Linked DNA regions of Homo sapiens: regions 2 and 3 are each linked to region 1. Evidence: promoter capture Hi-C in 16 types of primary human blood cells and fetal thymus (Javierre and others, 2016). All regions are on one chromosome and are shown on one strand. The core of a region is centred on a gene start or on the middle of the fragment in contact, and the rest is flanking DNA. Distances in the headings are between cores, read along the strand shown. Region 1 holds the start of MUC5B (mucin 5B, oligomeric mucus/gel-forming). Region 2 has its middle 38 kb from the start of DUSP8. Region 3 has its middle 11 kb from the start of MOB2.

Region 1 (2,935 bases), core at 193-2,692:
GGGACAGACCCAGAGTGGAGTTGCTGGTCACCCCCACCAGCAGGGCACAGGGCTCCGGGTCCCCACGTCTCTGCCAACACTTCCTACTTCCTGTGTTTCTTGATCCCCGCCATCCTATTGAGCGTGAGACAGGTCAGAAGCTTTGAAGATGGGCTTTCGTCTTGTCCCAGAAATCCCACCTCTAAGAATTTAACTTCAGAAAGACAAACGCGGGGGAGCTGGTGCAGGGCCCGTGACGGGGACTGTGACGTAAATAAAACAACAGACCTGGACACCACCCTAGGGTCCCCATGGGGCCGGACGAGGCCACACCACCCGACCTGGTGCTTCCTGCCTGGCGTCTGCGCCACGGAGCATTCAGGACGCTGGTGACCAGGGAGCCAGGAGGTGGGAGCATCTGAGGTGCAGGTCACACGGGCAGGAGGTGTTTGCAAGAGGTATTGCAGCGCGGACGGAGTGTCCTGCAGATGACGCTGTCTGTCCTGTAGATGACGCTCGTCAAGGAGGTTTACCACATAGCCCCCAGGAAGCCCACCCGACACCAGCCGGAGGTGCTAGGCTTCTGCGGCTCCCACCTGGGGCAGGCGGAGGACCCCGGGCAGGTCCAGGACCCCCCGGAGCAGCTGCTTCCTCAACCCTGCCAGGGTTAATGAGGAGGCCCCAGAGTGAGGTGGAGGCCAAATGGGACTCAGGGCCGGAGCCTCTGGCCTGGCTGGATCAGGGCTGGCATTGGACAAGCGCAGCTGACTCCCGATGTGCATGGCCAGGAGACACTCTGGGCCTCAGTTTCCCCTTGAATGTGAACCTTGAAACAGATCAGCCCAGAGACCTCCCACGGTCTTCAAGGGGCTCTGGTCAGCTGGGCTGGGGTCTCTGGAAATAGAGCCTCCTCCAGGGACCCCCACAAGCCACCCAGACTGAGCATCCTGGCCATGTGCATGCCTGAGCTCAGCAGGAGCCTCCCGGCCTCCCCGTGGGCTAAGCAGTGGTGGGAGGGGAGCTCCAGCCTCGTGGGCCCTCCCCGGGCCTCGGGGACCCATGGTCAGTGGCTGGGGGTGCTGCCCAGAGGCTGGGATTCCCTTCCAGCAGGAGCCGCAGTGGGGCTGAGTGTGAGGCAGGCTGGCTGACCACTGTTTCCATGGACCCTGCGTCCAAGGCCAGCCCTGCCTTCCAGCGGCTTTGCCATCTAGGACGGGTGCCAGGTGGGGTAGGCCCTTCTCTCCCTTCCGATTCTCAGAAGCTGCTGGGGGTGGGGGCGTCCTGGGCCTCAGGGCACAGAGCTGCAAATCCTTCCTGATCCAGGCCTCTCCCCTGCCACAGCCCCTCCCCGAGAGCAAACACACGTGGCTGGAGCGGGGAAGAGCATGGTGCCCTGCGTGGCCTGGCCTGGCTTGGGGCCAAGGCTCCCTGCTACATAAGCTGGGGCCCCCAGGGGAGCAAGCACCCGGCCCGGCTCCCTCCCTGCCCGTCCCCGTCCCCCCACCCGTGCCAGCCCCCAGGATGGGTGCCCCGAGCGCGTGCCGGACGCTGGTGTTGGCTCTGGCGGCCATGCTCGTGGTGCCGCAGGCAGGTAAGAGCCCCCCACTCCGCCCCCTCTCGATGCTGTCTTCACGGCGGGGGTCTCTGCAGGTCGCTTGCCTGGGAGCTTCTCCTGCAGAGTGCACGGGCAGATCCCCCTACGACTCCCTGAGTGTCCTGGATGGGACCCTACCCGTCCCCAACACAGGGCTCTGGGGCCCCACGGGCTCACAGTGTCAGGAAACTCAGGGGCTGGCTTGGATGGGGTGTCCAGGAGAAGGTGGGCCCCTGACCGCAGGGCAAGGCCCCTGGGAGACCACCGAAAGGGTCTTGGTCTTGGGGGTGGGACAGGAGTGGGCAATGGGGGAGGGGGTCACAGCTGGGGGTCTCTCTGGAGCCCCATGAGGCCCAGGCATCAGAGTGAGCAGGGGCAGGCTTAGCGTGGACCCCTGTCCAGGACCGGCTCTACCCTTCACGACCTCCCTGGGGATCACAGCTGGCAGGGCAGGTGAGGGTACCACCCTCAAGGGTTGCACAGCCAGCCGCAAGAGCCCCGGCCTCAACCCACGCTCGACTCCCACGGCCCATCTGTGGGCATCTCATGCCGCACGGGCTGCCTGGCTCTCAGCCGAGCGTTTTCCCTCGTCTGCTGTCTCTTGGCCAGAGCCGCAGCATTAATACTTACTGTCAATAGAGAAAGATGCAGCCCCAGGGGCCACCGGGAGACACCCAGCCGGGCTGGCCATGAGGCTGCTGCAGCCCCTCCCTGCCCCGCCCTCCACCCCCTCCCAAGCTTGGGGTCTGGGCTGGGCAGGTGAGGCTCCCTGGGGTCTCTCTCCATCTGTGGAAGGGAGGCTGGGTGGTCAGCAGGGCTGGAGGCAGGGGGCTTCCCCCAGTGGCTCCCAGCCTGGGCCCGGGGGGAGCTGCGTCTGGCTGCAAGGTTTGGGGGCTGGTTTGACCAGAATAGCCACCTCCTTGCATCTGATTCTTCCGGGCCATGCAGCCTTGGCTCCCCTCACCTGAGCAGGCAGGGCCTAGGGACTCTCAGCCCACCCGTCCTCCTGTCCTCCACGCACGTCCAAGTTGGGGAGATCAAGCCCTTGGCAGGGACTGTGCTTTAGTCACCAGATGCACGTCCTGTGGCCGGGGAAGGCAGCCCTGCACAGAGCAGCTTCATGTTAGGGGACACACCCCAAAGTGATGGGGTGGCTGGTGGTGGGCACTTCTCTGGCTACAAGATGGAGGCCCAGGTGGTCCAGCCCAAGGAGGGCACTGCACGGAGCAGATAACCAAGGGCAGTCAGCCTGGGCAGGGGAGGGGCTGCCTGGGGGGGAGGGGTTGCCTGGGTTGGGGAGGGGCTGTCTGGGGCAGGGGAGGAGCTGCCTGGGGCGGGGGAGGGGCTGTAGGGCCAGGGAGG
Region 2 (2,935 bases), core at 182-2,681, 310 kb after region 1:
TTTGTTTGTTCCAATTGTTTCTACTTCCACTGAACACCAATGGGTGTGCCCCAGCCAGGAGAAATCCTGTGCAGAAAAAAACAAACATGGTGAAGGCAAAGAATGGGAGGCTCTTCTGGCCAAAGACAGACGGGAACAGCACACGCCCTTCCCTTCCAGACAGGTCTAGCACTGGCAGGAGGCTGCACAAGCAGTAATCACCACGGAGAAACAAAGGCCACGGCCCTGTGGCTCCCAACCAGCACTAAGTGGCCCTAACAAAAGTTGCAGTGGGCCCTGGTGTTTCTAACCCAGACCGCTGTGTGGACAAAGGAGAAACACTGGGGTGACAGGGGCATGGCACAGGGGTCCTCCCTCACAGTGGCCTCAACACCCCTCCTCCCGTACCGGATGACCGCAGCAGAGACCACAGCTTCCTCTGGAGAGGGGGTCTGGTGGTACACCAAGCCCCTGCTCGATCTGACAGCAGCACTTGGCAGGCAGACCCCTAGGGTGGCTGGCTTTCCCAGGGCTGGGAAGAGGCCCTCATGAGCCAGGACACAAGGGTGGCACTTGGTGGTGGCAAAGGTGGGGGCTGCGCTGTCTCAGATACACTCGTGATGAGAAACGCAGCCCTGCTGTCTACCAGCCCCCGACCAGGGGAGGCCGTCTGCAGCTCCCCTGGTGGGCTCACCCCCAGCTTCAAGGACACTTGTGCAAGGGTTCCTAGTAGTCAGTCCGAGCAGGAGAAATGGGAGGGGTGTCGCTAGGGGTTTACGGGGAGGCTCATTCTAAAAAGGGCTCCATGTATCCACGACCACTGCTTTTTTTTTTTTTTGAGATGGAGCCTCACTCTGTCACCCAGACTGGAGTGCAGTGGCGCCATCCCCACTTACTGCAACCTCCACGTCCCGGGTTCAAGTGACTTTCCTGCCTCAGCCTTCCGAGCAGCTGGGATTACAGGCACACGCCACCACGACCGGCTAATTTTTTGTATTTTTAGTAGAGACGGGGTTTCACCGTGTTAGCCAGGATGGTCTCAACCTCCTGACCTCGTGATCCGCCCGCCTCGGCCTCCCAAACTGCTGAGACTACAGGCGTGAGCCACTGCACCTGGCCGACCACTGCTCTTTTTAAGGTTAATTTGGAAACGGGAGGGATGATGGAAAACTTTTTTTTAAAGAAGAGGACTCTGAATGCAACACCACCCTAGGCAAACACCTCTGAAACCCAGGCCTAAGAGTGCCCTGGTGGAGCCCTGATGGAAAGAGGCTATTCCTGAAACCAGACCTTCCAGGGCTGCCCGCTGGAGATACAGCAGACCTGGGCCAGCCGGCTTCTCTGCTCACACCTCCGCATGTGCTGCTGCTTCTTCCTGGGCCACCTCCTTCCTCCTTCCCTCTTGGAAAAGCCCTTCATACCTGCTCTAACCGAGCCCCCTGCTTTTGGCCGCACTCACCCACTCCTCAATTCTCCTGCTGCCTGGGGCCCTTCTCTACCAGCCTGACAGCTCTAGGAAAGCGGGAATGGCTGTGTCTCCATCTCTGGACCTCCGCCCCAGCACAGAGCCTGGTACACGGCAGCCCATGAACTCAGGAATCTGGGGCCCCCGGCTGAGGAACAGGCCCAGCTCACTGTCCTAAAAGTCACAGTCACAAACCGCGGATCAGTGGTGGAAGGAGAGTGGCAGATGCACATCTCCCCAGGACGGAATTGCACTTGGTGATGAAGAGGACGGAGCTGCAGACACACGCAACGCCATGGATGGACGTTCGCAACACTGCGCCGCATAGGACAGGCACACAGCCCGTGTACTGGGATTCCATTTGCATGATTCAGCTCACCCACACAGATGGCGGGAGACTGGTGGCCGCCTCGAGGCTGGAGGTGGGGATGGGGAGCAGTGCCAGTGGACATGAGGCTTCTCTGGGGCATGATAGCAAAGTTCTCAAATTAAACTGTGGTGATGGTTACTCAGCCCTGTAATTTTACCAAAAATTATTTAATTGCAAACTTAAGTTAACTTTATGGTATGTAAATTATACCTCAATGAGGCTGTTAAAAGAACTCTAGAGATTCAAGCAAGTTCAGCCTGGGTGTCCTCATAATCAGAATCAATTGTCAACCACCAGTAACATCCTCCCATGCGGCAAAGAAAAGAAAGAAGAAAAACAAGGTCATCATCACTCCATTCACATTCCTGCAGAGACACACACTCACGAGATTTTATCTCGGTCAGAGAGGAGGACCCCTGAAGGCAGCTGGGAGAGCCAAGTTAGTAAGCACAAGCTAGCAGCCCCAAAGAGGCCCTCCCCACTCACCTGCAGTCTGTCTTCAATCAGAGCTGAGTCAGTAAGCACAGGCCAGCGGCCCCAGAGAGGCCCTCCCCATTCACCTGCAGTCTGTATTCAATCACCAGCACTGTGGTGCCACAGCCCGAGCCCGCTAACCCACAGTTCACCTGCTGCTTGGAGAGTAACCAGGGCACTGGTGTCAAGGCACCGTGCGGCCTCAGAAGGAGCCAGGAGAGCCCCAAGGAAGGGTGCCTGAGATACGTGCCCCCTTGCCCTGGCTGTGGCCAGCCAGAGAAGGTGCCTGGAGGAGAGGGGCCTTTCCCCACAAACTCCACCACACTGGGCCCTGTGCAGGGCCAGCAGGAGGGCGGCTACATTCCCATCAGTCGGGAGGGGAGGAAGTGTGTTTCCTCTCCTGTATTCCCAGATGCTCAGCTGCTCCTGGGCTGTGCGTTCCGTTGGGTAACACTGACTGCACACACACCTCTTCACAAATGCCTGTTGTCAGTTGAAGACAAGACAAAAGTTTCTCCTAAACTCCAAACAGTGTGTGGTAGAGTTCCTCCCTTCCCTAGCCTCCACAGAAACCACCGCAGCTCAAGCTTCTCCTCTCCACCTGCCTACAACTCAGTGGCGCGGGATGACATCCTGTCACTGGCTGC
Region 3 (2,935 bases), core at 126-2,625, 270 kb after region 1:
AACACGGACAGTATCTGTGCCAAGCTCAAAGTAGGCAAAGATTTCCTAGAATGTAAAAAGCACTAACCAAAAAGTGACAAAATACATTTCATCAAAATTTAATCATACACACACTTCTATTCAATATACTGTTAAGAAAAATGAATAGGCAAGCCACGGATGGCATATATCCAACAAAAGACTTCTAGCTAAACTATAGAAAGCAGGTCTACAGTTCAACAATAAAAGAGACAACTCAACATTTAAAAAGGGCAAAAGACTGGAACAGACATTTTACATAAGAAGACAAATAATGGCCGATAAGTACAAGAGCAAGTGCCACGCCTTCCAGAATGGCTAAACCTGCACAGACTGAGAACACCCAAGGTGTGGAGGAGGCAGGAACCAGGAGACTGATGCGCTACAGGCAGGGCGAGGAACTACTGAGGAAAAAGCCACAACTACTGAGGAAAAGGGCTGGCAGTTTCTTGGAAAGTTAAATATGCATGTAGGATTCCATAATTCCATGGCTAAGTACTGACCCAAAAGAAACAAAAACATACATCCACATAAAGGCTCCTACAAGAACGTTCACAGCAGCAGTGTTCACAATAGCCAGAAACTGGAAACAACCCAAAGTCCATGAACAGAAGAACAGCTCAACAAACGACAGTATATTCATACAACAAAACACCACTCAGCAACCCAAAGCATAAAACCACCACCAAGATGCAATGCACAGCTAAGCCCCACAGATGTGATGTCAGTGGGAAAACGCCAGAGACAAGAGCGGGGACCATCAGACTCCATGTATCTGATGTTTAGAAAAGGCCCAATTAGTCCTTGATGAAAATAAATCAGACAGTGGCTGCCTGTTGGGAGGGGAGGTGGCAGGCAAACAGGGCTGACTGGTAAGGCATGTGGTGGTGTTTTCCGGGAAGACGGAAACATTTTGCATCTTGACAGGGGTGTGGGCTACAGGGGAATTCATATTCATCAAAACTCACTTAACTGAATACTTGAGATCCGTGCATTTCATTGTTTGTAAATTATATGTCAACTTCTGAAAAACTAAAAGTTTCTACAAAGGAGGAAAGAGAGAAAGCATTTAAGAGAAAATGGCAGACAAAATTAAAGGGAAAAAACACTTGCAACTACATATGGAAAAGGCACATGTCACCTCAGACCAACTCACACCAAGGCGTTCTAGTAATATTACTAGACTTATGACGAACAGAAAGTCCTTTGATAAAAGGTAAGTTTGCATACAAAGGAAAGAAAATTGTATTTCCATTAGACACCAGTAACACTTTAAATCAAAAGGCTATTGTCATGGATGGAATTCCCACGAATTCACAGGTTGAAGCCCGTACCCCCAGTGTTGTGATGCTATTTGGAGATGGCACCACTGGAGGTAATCAGGGTTAGATGAAGTCATGAAATAGGGTGGGGCCCCCCAGATAGGATTACTGGCCTTATACTGAGAGGAAGGTTCTAGGCAGAGGTCAGCAGTAGCTGCAAACAACACAAAAAGACAACGAGATATTATGCACCTCCTGTGGTGGAACACAGCCACCAGCGGAGCCAACTGGCCTCCAAAGAAGAATGAGAATGCGATCAAGGTCTAAATCTAGCTGCCAATTTACAGGAAATAAAAAGAATGTTCTAAACAATACCACAGCATGCAATTAGCAAAATTCAGACCCTGGGAGACATCACAGGAAGAGCAGGCAGGCTCCACTAACAAAGTAAGTGGATGGGAAAAAAAACAAACAGGAAGGGTGGAGTGGATCCAGAGACATGGGGCGGAGCCTGCAGCCTGGTCACCACTCGGCACCTGTGCCCATCACCTCTGGTCCAATGTCGCGCTCCAGTGTGTAAGGTGCTGTCCCTGTAGGGGCTAGCTGAGGGTGGCCCTGGAATTTGTGCTATTTTTGCAACTTCTTATGAATTTATAATGATTTCAAAATAGAAAGTTAAAGAGTTTCAAAATCTGTCATCCAAGTGCAACGCATGGACCTTATTTGAATCCACATTCAACACTCTAAAAACAAGTCATGAGACACCAGACAAACATAAAGGCTTGATACTCAATGTTATGAAGAAATCACTACTTTTGGTATGATAATGAAACATCTTATGTTTAAGGAAAAGAATCCCTCTCCTTTACAGACATACAGAATAGTCACGGATGAAACATGTTCAGAATTTCCTTCAAAATCATCTGGGTGATGCGGGAAAATTACAGCTGAGGTGGGTGTGGCTTTGAACACACGTACCCACCAAAATCACTCACCCTTCTTTTAAAATCAGTTCATGAATCCAATCTCTATCAAAGACATGCACAGAATTTCTCCAGAGAGAAGCTGCCCCGTGAACACTCCAACTAGTCTTTTCCCTAACAACAGCTTTCCATCGGTTCTCCCGGCTCCTCGGAACAGCAGAGCTACCTGAGCTTAGCGATTTATACTCCATCGCAGCGTCGCAGCCGTGGTGGGGGCATCATGGGGCCACAACGGAAGAGCTCTACGGTCAGGTGTGGCTCGAGGATGTGAGCTCTTCTCAGCAAGGGTGCATGCACAGCACTGCTGGCTCACAAAACTCATGTGCATGTGTGCATGTGTGTGTGTATGCATGTGCACGTGTGCCTGTGTGTGCATCAGCACAAAGCCAAGAGGTCACAGTGTTTTGCTTGTAATCAAAGATCACCACGTGTTCAAGGAAGAAAGGAAAATAATCCCTTCCTAGGAGTCAAATCGATCCACAGGAAAAGTCCCATAAATGGCCGAATGGCAGAATTAGTAGATGACATTTTAAGTCAGGCTACCTGTATCCCACCCATCCAGAAAGCCAGAAGAAACATGAGACGTGGTAAACAGAGATAAAGAAGATTTTTCTTAAAATCCAAACTGGACTTCCAGATGTGGGCATGAAGATGTCTGAGATGAGCACCATG

The links. Contacts are between HindIII fragments. The CHiCAGO score rates a contact against its expected background, and 5 or more counts as called.
Region 2: a fragment that was not itself captured here is called in contact with the fragment with the promoter of MUC5B in region 1 in 1 of 17 cell types (M0 macrophages); the score reaches 5.1 in M0 macrophages.
Region 3: a fragment that was not itself captured here is called in contact with the fragment with the promoter of MUC5B in region 1 in 1 of 17 cell types (M0 macrophages); the score reaches 5.7 in M0 macrophages.

The regions. Positions count from the first base shown.
Region 1 is chr11:1,221,624-1,224,558 of GRCh38, forward strand. MUC5B (mucin 5B, oligomeric mucus/gel-forming) reads left to right here and starts at 1,443. Exons shown (of 49, transcript NM_002458.3): 1 at 1,443-1,570. The coding sequence starts at 1,501. RefSeq lists enhancers at 1,284-1,981, 1,982-2,677, 2,678-2,935. The HindIII fragment of the contact is 2,171 bases long and covers 139-2,309 here.
Region 2 is chr11:1,533,068-1,536,002 of GRCh38, forward strand. No RefSeq gene overlaps it. Among named protein-coding and RNA genes, the nearest start is that of DUSP8, 38 kb to the right of the region's middle. The HindIII fragment of the contact is 2,884 bases long and covers 1-2,873 here.
Region 3 is chr11:1,495,986-1,498,920 of GRCh38, forward strand. No RefSeq gene overlaps it. Among named protein-coding and RNA genes, the nearest start is that of MOB2, 11 kb to the left of the region's middle. The HindIII fragment of the contact is 5,700 bases long and covers 1-2,935 here.